Regions from separate parts of the Homo sapiens genome. Here regions 1 and 3 are each linked to region 2. Evidence: promoter capture Hi-C in human tissues and cell types (Jung and others, 2019). All regions are on one chromosome and are shown on one strand. Each heading gives the region's core, a stretch centred on a gene start or on the middle of the fragment in contact. The rest is flanking DNA. Distances are from core to core; before and after follow the strand shown.

What was found. Contacts are between HindIII fragments. The study calls those that stand out against the background at their distance.
Region 1: the fragment with the promoter of MROH9 here is called in contact with the fragment with the promoter of FMO4 in region 2 in 1 of the 25 tissues and cell types used here (stomach).
Region 3: a fragment that was not itself captured here is called in contact with the fragment with the promoter of FMO4 in region 2 in 1 of the 25 tissues and cell types used here (aorta).

Annotation. Positions count from the first base shown.
Region 1 is chr1:170,934,104-170,936,803 of GRCh38, forward strand. It overlaps MROH9 (maestro heat like repeat family member 9), which reads left to right and starts at 1,431. Exons shown (of 22, transcript NM_001163629.2): 1 at 1,431-1,484. The HindIII fragment of the contact is 10,538 bases long and covers 1-2,700 here.
Region 2 is chr1:171,312,868-171,315,567 of GRCh38, forward strand. FMO4 (flavin containing dimethylaniline monoxygenase 4) reads left to right here and starts at 1,316. Exons shown (of 10, transcript NM_002022.3): 1 at 1,316-1,546. The HindIII fragment of the contact is 8,197 bases long and covers 1-2,700 here.
Region 3 is chr1:170,888,778-170,891,477 of GRCh38, forward strand. No RefSeq gene overlaps it. Among named protein-coding and RNA genes, the nearest start is that of MROH9, 45 kb to the right of the region's middle. The HindIII fragment of the contact is 4,840 bases long and covers 1-2,700 here.

The sequences.
Region 1 (2,700 bases), core at 181-2,680, 380 kb before region 2:
TAAAATTGAGTTCAGAAATAAACCATTTTAGTCAATTCATTTTTTACAAAGATGTGGAGACAATCAGGAAAAGAATCATCTTTTTAACAAATTGTACTGAGACAAGTGAATATCCAGATGCAAAAAATAAGATAAAATTAGACCTCTACCTCACACTATATACTAAAACTAATTCAGAATGAACCAAAGACCTAAATGTAAGGCAAAAACTACAAAACTCTTAGAAAAGTTCTAAATCTAATCTCTGTGAAGTTGGGCCAGGGAATGCAGGCAATGTCTTTTTCTTTTTTTTTAGTTATGATACCAAAAACACAAGCAATAAAAGAAAAAGAATGGCAAATTTAAATTTCACTTAAATTTAAAACTTTTGTGCTTCAAGAGACACTGTCAAGAAAATGTAAAGGCAGCCCATAGAAAAGGAGGAATATTTGCAAATTATGTATCTGATAAGAGACTAGCATCTAGAACATATTAAAAAATCACAACTCAGTAATAAAAATCCAAACAGTCTAATCATAAAAAGTCACATATTGTATAAATCTATTTACATAAAATGTCCAGAAGGCAGACAGAAGATTAGTGGTTGCCAGGTACTTGGGGGAGAGGGAGGGTGAATGTCTGCTAACAGGTACAGGGTTTCTTTGGAGCTTGTTCTAAATGAAAATGTTCTAAAATTAGATAGTAATGATGGTTGTATACCTCTGTAAATATATTTAAAATGATTGAATTATATACTTTAAGATAAATTTTATGGTATGTGAATTATATTTTAATAACTCTATTATAAAAAGTGCTACAATAAACATCCTTCATGTCTCTCAGTGCATCAGTTGTATACATGTTTATACACTCTATGGACCTAGAACTGGAAATTCTGGGTTGTAGATTTTCAGTTTTGCTAGAACTTGACAAGTTTCTCTACAAACTAGTTATATCCATTTATAATCCCACCAGTCGTGTGAGAAAGTTCAACTTTCTTTTATCTTTGCCAATATTTGAAATTATCTTTTTTTAATTTTTACTTGTATTTTAGTACTTTTTAACTTATTAGCTGGGAAATAATATTTTAATGGTTTGTATTTTCATAACTTCAAGTGAGATTAAAAATCTTTTAAAATATTTATTGGCCATTCAGTTTTCCTTTTCTGTGAATTTTCTATTCTTATCCTTTGCCCAGCTTCTACTGGACTGTTGGTCTGAAGAACTATCTTTCAGTGCTTGTAACATAGAAACCAGAAACTTACCCACCCCTCAATAATGACAGGTGAGCATTAGTAGCCACTTGGGCATGCCAGGACATTCTACCACATTCATTCCAGAATGGAATCTTTGAAACATATGGTTGCCATGACGAGTGTCAACATTTCAAAGAATTTGCTTGGTTGATAACTACCTAGAGTATTTTACCTTTGGCTAAGAGGTAATATACTAGAGTTTCTCTTCACTACTTTGTCTCACCGTGATTACAGAGAAGTTACAAATATGTAAGTGAATTCCTATTAATATTTCTGTCATTCAAAAGCTTGTCTTTTTTTCTAATCCTGACTACTTTTCTTAATTTTTGTTCTGTTAAGAAAAAGAACCATGAATACATTAGAAAATTACGTTATGGCCCAGGTATGGTGGCTCACACCTGTAATCCCAGCACTTTGGGAGGCTGTGGGCGGATCATGAGGTCAGGAGGTCGAGACCACCCTAGGCAACTTGGTGAAACCCCATCTCTACTAAAAATACAAAAATTAGCTGGGTGTGGTGGCGGGTGCCTGTAATCCCAGCTACTCAGGAGGCTGAGGCAGGAGAATCACTTGAACTCGGGAGGTGGAGGTTGCAGTGAGCCGAGATCATGCTACTGCACTCCAGCCTGGCAACAGAGTGAGACAAAAAAAAAAAAAAAAAAAAAAAAAAGAAAAGAAAAAGAAAATTACATTACTATGGGCCCTCATCCAGAAATCTTGCCAAAGTTGGCAATTGGAAGAATTTGTCTTTATTCATTAATCTCCTAACTTCATGCCTTACTAGTAAGGATTATCTTATTAGTAAGGATGAGAGAAACCACAACTATATAGATAAATATATTTATTATAAGGTATTGGTTTACACAATAATAGAAGCTAGGAAGTCCTGGATTCTGCTTTCTGCAAGACAGAGACCCAGGAGATCCAATGGTGCAGTTTGAAGGCCTGAGAGCAAGAGAGTTGATGATAAAAATTCCAGCCTGGTTCTGAGGATCTGAGAACCAGAGCACCGAGGGCAGCAGATTTGTGTCCCAAGTCAAGTAGTCAGGCAAAGAGAAAACTAAGCATTCTTCTGCCTTCTTGTTTTATTCAGGCCCTCAATGGATTGGAAGATGTTGACCCACATTAGGGAGTGTCATCTCCTATCATCAGAACACCAATTTAAATGCTAATCTCTTCTGGAAATACCCTCACAGACATACCCCAAAATAATGTTTACCAGATATCTGGGCATCCTATGGCTCACTCAGTTTGACACGTAATATTAACTAACCATAATGAGTTCCCACGTTGAAAATTTGGCACCCATATACATATCCTTAAGCCATAGTTAATCTCCAAATAAAGTCAATAAGAAGCTCATAATTCCATTTAACATGTTGAAATGTAGTGGGATTGATAAGGAATCAGAGAGACCGATGGGGTTGAGAAGGATATTTATTATTTAGGTGCACCGGCCCAGTTG
Region 2 (2,700 bases), core at 66-2,565:
TGAAGTCAGGGAGACCAGGAACCCACCGGAAGGAACTAACTCTGGACACAATATTTTTTTTTCTTTTTTTAAATTTTTTTCTTTATTTCTTCTAAAAAAAAGTGGGATGCATGTGCAGAACGTGCAGGTTTGTTGCATAGGTACACGTGTGCCATGGTGATTTGCTGCACCTATTGACCTGTTCTCCTCTAAGTTCCCTCTCCTCACCCCCTACCCTACAACAGGCCCTACAACATTCCCCTCTCTGTGTCCATGTGTTCTCATTGTTCAACTCCCACTTATGAGTGAGAACATGCAGTGTTTGGTTTTCTGTTCCTGTGTTAGTTTGCTGAGGATGATGGCTTCCAGCTTCATCCATGTCCCTGCAAAGGACATGATCTTATTTCTTTTTATGGCTGCATAATATTCCATGATATTTTTCAAAAGAAAATATTTGCTGCCAACAGAAGATTTTATATTAAAATCTGTATTTGCAGCTTTTACTGAAAAGAACCTAAGGCCTTGCCATATTGGGCTCATTTTCTCAAATAGCAACATTTAGCTGAACTGAATAGACAGAGAAAGTACTTTCCAGTCAGATCATATCTGGCCCACTTTCCTCGTGTATGTTACCCTCCTCACTCCTGTAGGCATTTGCATGTGTAGTCACAAGCAAATGTGGTTTAGAAATTGTTCAGTGAACCATGTTGGAAAATGTCCCTAAACACAAGTCCTAAAGATGGTCTGTTATATTATCTTACAAGCACACAGTGGAAGGAAAAACAGTTAAGTTTTCTATTTCTGCCACAGCTTCTATAATTATTACCTTTCTTGTGCCCTAGGTTAATATCTAAAAATAGCTTTATGCTTTCTCAAACACATTTCACCAGCTCCCTCTGCTGATCCAATCTGAAGGACAAAACAGCTTAAATTCCTTGTAAGTCCTGAACTTTAAAATCACATTTCTGGGGTTGGAGAACTCCAAGCATGAAAGAACTTGATGAGGTAATGGTCATCTAAATAACTTTCTCCTTTGGACAGCTCCTATGGTAATCCAAGCAAGAGTCAGGGTGTAGAAGTTTGTTTCCAAAAGTAGAACTCCTGTTTCGCTGAGAAAGCTGTAATTTGGGGTGATTTGGCGCCCTCTACAGACTATAATGGCAAAAGCGACGCTATCATGTGCTTCCCATAGCTTTAGGGCTTTGCCAGAACTATGACGTTGAGGAGGGTGGGGTAAAGGGGCAGGAAGCGTTTATGTTCTGCCAATCCAACAGCTGTATTCTAACTCACCATTCCGCCCTCCCTTAAGATCACGGAAGTATCACGCTTGCCTCTTACACAACTTTTTTTCCTTAGTCTGTATACTTTCTGCTGTCACTAGCATAACAGAAAAGACGAATGGCTTTTGTTTTAAACTGAGGGCACTTTTACAAAAGTCATCTTTCCATTTATTTTTCTTTCAGAAAAAAGAATTTGGGTTTTGAGCTTTTTTAAAAAAAAAAGACAAACACTTTCCTTGACTTTGAGAAATAATTTAAGTCAAAGAATCTGCTCTATGCTAACCAAGGTAAGTGTCCTGGATTTTTTTTTTAATGGGGAAATGATCCAGAAACTGCTTTCACAAAAGATGAATGTTTTTCTTGGAGTGTGTTCCTTAAGAATGAATGTGATTATCTTCTTTTGGGGTCTCTTGACTAGGGCTAAAGCAAGAGAATTAAGGAGAGAGTCAGGAAGCAAAGGGAAGTTGTAAGGAAACAAAGTTATGTTGTGGACAGAACCATCCAAAAGGAAAGTGTCAGTGAGATAAACAGAATCATGAGACTTTCAGTGACTCCAGTGACCTCTGATTTCATCTTATGAATGAGATGGAAATGCCAGCCATTGGGAAACAAATACCCCATAGATGGCGTGGGAAAAAAATACTGTAACAAAGCAAGAGCATGGTAGGATGATGATAAGAAACATAAAATGATCAAATTTCAAATTCAAAGAAATCATAATTGATTACATGATTTGCAAATCACCCAAGTCTCTCCATGTCTCATAAAGGATTCCTACATTTGCTGGTCAGTCAGGTATAGGGTGGGGTTTTCCCGTTGTACAAAGGTCTAGTTCAATAGGTCAGGTCTCCTTTCTGCCAAGGGACTAAATATAAGCAACCTATGGCTGGCACGGTGGCTCACGCCTGTAATCCCAGCACTTTGGAAAGCCGAGGAGGGCAGACCACTTGAGATCAGGAGTTTGAGACCAGCCTGACCAACATGGTGAAACCCCGTCTCTACTAAAAATACAAAAATTATCCAGGCGTGGTGCCGCCTGCCTGTAGTCTCAGCTACTCAGGAGGCTGAGGCAGGAGAATCACTTGAACCCAGGAGGTGGAGGTTGCAGTGAGCCGAAATTGTGCCACTGCATTCCAGCCTGGAAGACAGAGTGAGACTCCAACTCAAATAAATAAATAAATAAATATAAGCACCTTTGAGCAACCAAGTACCTTATGAAGTCCACTTTATAGTTTGCAGAGTTTGCACACACGTTCTCCCAATCCTTCAAGCCTGCAGTATTCTCGCCTACCTTTGAATTCATATCTTTTTTTTTTTGTGCACCAATTACTTGGTTTTCAGACATAAGAACAGTCCTTTCAAGCTTGAAGGAAACAAAGAGAAAGCCACTTGAACCCTCTGTTTTACAAATGTGGAAGCACTGGCTCAGAGAAATTGAGAA
Region 3 (2,700 bases), core at 199-2,698, 420 kb before region 2:
AGATGTGAATGCTATTGGTTTTTGTATGGTGAGAACTACTTTTATTTAAAGCATTTTCTGTGTTTCATCCTCTCATTCCACTTCCATTATTACTTTCAGAATGTTTTATGTCTATGTAACCTCTGCTTTTTTCCTTGGTGTCTCATAATTACTGATCCTGGCTCCAAACTCTCTCCTATAACTATTCCCAGAGGCCATCCTCACTATGCTACAGCCTGTCTCTCTGTTAAGTTTTCATGAGGAATGTCTCTTTTGTGGCATTTACCAAAGGGAAAAAAATCTTCCAAGCTTCTCTAAATAGCATAAAGTAATTCTGTTCTCATAGTCTTAAAAAAGGCATTTCTCCCTTTTTCTTTTTTTCTTTTTTTTTTTTTTTTTTTTTTTTAATTCTAGGACTTGTCCCATCAGTAGGACCCATACAGTTAACCACATGAAAACTATTGGAGTAGGCTTTTAAAAAATCTTTGGTACGACGAAGACAGTGATTTACTAGATTTATTCTAAGTAATCATATGGGAATACTTTTTTATTTTCAGAAAAAATCAAATTAAACATGTGAGGTTTATTTTAAAAATTAGTATTTATGATTAGACTCAGCACAGGTAAGGAGTTCAATTGGATAAGGCCACTTAGTTTTTGTGCCTATCTTCTTATGAAGTGGTTGGTGACAAATTAGATTTTTCTATACTTCTAGCGCAAACTCAGTCATGCTTGAAGGCTTCAGTGTGATGACACTTGACCTGAACTGAAAGTATAAATGAGAAAGCGCCGGGTCACCCACTATTACATTTGGAAGTTGTTAAGTATTTTTGGAGTTCTATCAAGAGAAATTTGGAATAAAGTAAGACTAAGATTAACCACTAATTATGGAAAAGACAAGTAAGTGGAAAAAGGGTCCTGGTCTTTTAAGAGAACATCCAAAATCATGCTTTCAACTAACACCTCTTAGCAAAGTAGTGAAAAGCAGTGACCTAGGAATATGTTCAATACCTGCTTCAGCTACTTACTAACTGCAAGTGGTTTAACTTCTCTGGATTAATCATGGTTACCACCTCATAGGATTGTTGTGAAGTTTAAATGAAATAATGCGAGGAAAACATTTAGCACAGTGCCTGTTGATCCTAAGTGTTCAGAAAATATTCTAGCTAAAATACTGTGGTTGTTGTTGTTATTGTTGTTATTTTTATTATCTAGAGGTAAACCTTCAGTGCAGTCCAAGTCGTGTGACAGGACATTTGTATTTTGGTATCTTGCCCCCTGCCGCAAGCTTCTAAGCCTGTACAGCAGAATTGGATTTTTCTGTGATCAAGGTGTGGGGGCAGATAAGACAAATACCATCAATCTAGGAAGTAGATGGAAGCTACTCATTGGCACCAAGCAATCACACATCCTCAATGCGTGCTTGTTGAGGCAATTAACCTTCAGCTTCTATACGTATAGGTAGCTAGATTTCCTAATTGAGGAATTGATGCAGAGTGAATATACCATTCAAAGTCTCAGCATCCACAATCTCAGCATGTATCTTTATAAATCACATGACATAAATCCAATATTTTGGAGGAAGAAAGCTTGGCAAAAAGGAATTCGAAAACTATTCATTGATATTGGGGTTATTTAGGGAAGAGAGCAAGGAATAAAAAACGATTCGTTGACGTTGGGGTTATGAAGGGAAGAGAGCTACAAATGTAACATTCAACTTATTATCCAGATTCTGAAACAGGCCTTACAACCCAGGAACATTTAACATTTAGCACTTTAGTAGAATGTATAACATTTCTGTGTTTACCCACCACTGAGCTGGGCAAAAAGATGACTGGAATTATTCTTTACAATCAAAGAGCTTACATGATATTTTACAGTATAAGAAGCATAGATATTCCTATGTTCCTAAATTAATCTACCTCTCCCATTTTCAGCTTAGTTATTGTCAAATTTAGAGTATTTGTGAGCAGAAATAAAAGCCCTTTGCCCCCAGACTGTATGGCTTGCTCTGAATTTTGGAAAGCCAGGTTTCTGGTCAAGCAAGCAGGATTTGAATTGCAACGAGTCAGTGAAGACAGTCAAATGCTGGGCTGGCCAGCCATTTGCCTGATAGCTGCCTCTATTTAGAGACTGTGAAGAACCAAGGAAAGACAGCCAGAATCAAACCCGCTTCCAGCTTCATCCTCTTCCTACCTCCACACACCATCATTTGTTTCCCAAACAATTATTAACTAGTCTTTGCCACTATATATCTGAGTAAAAAATTCACCCAAAACTCACTGACTTAAAAGAACATTTATTTCCATGAGTCCGTGGGTTGGCTGAACTGGGATGGATGCTGTGCTCAGCTGGGTGGATCTACTTGAAGCTGTGTCTCCCTAGATGCCATTGCTTCCCACTACAGGTCTGTGGGCCAGCCTGGAGTCTCTACTTCACATATCTCATTATCCTAAGAGTCCCAGAAACAGGCACACTTCTTCATTCATGGAGGGAGCAGAGGCAAAAGGGAACAAGAGGAAGTATATGAGTCCTGTTAAGGCCCAGGTATGAAACTGACCCATTGTCACTCTTGTCCCCAGGATCAAAGCAAGTCACATGGCCAAGCCCAAAGTCTATGAAGCAAGAAAATACACTCCACCAATGATGGGGCTATGACTAAATATGGAAGCAAGAAAGTGTGAAGAATGGGAGCCAATCTTTCAGCCTACCACTCTGAAT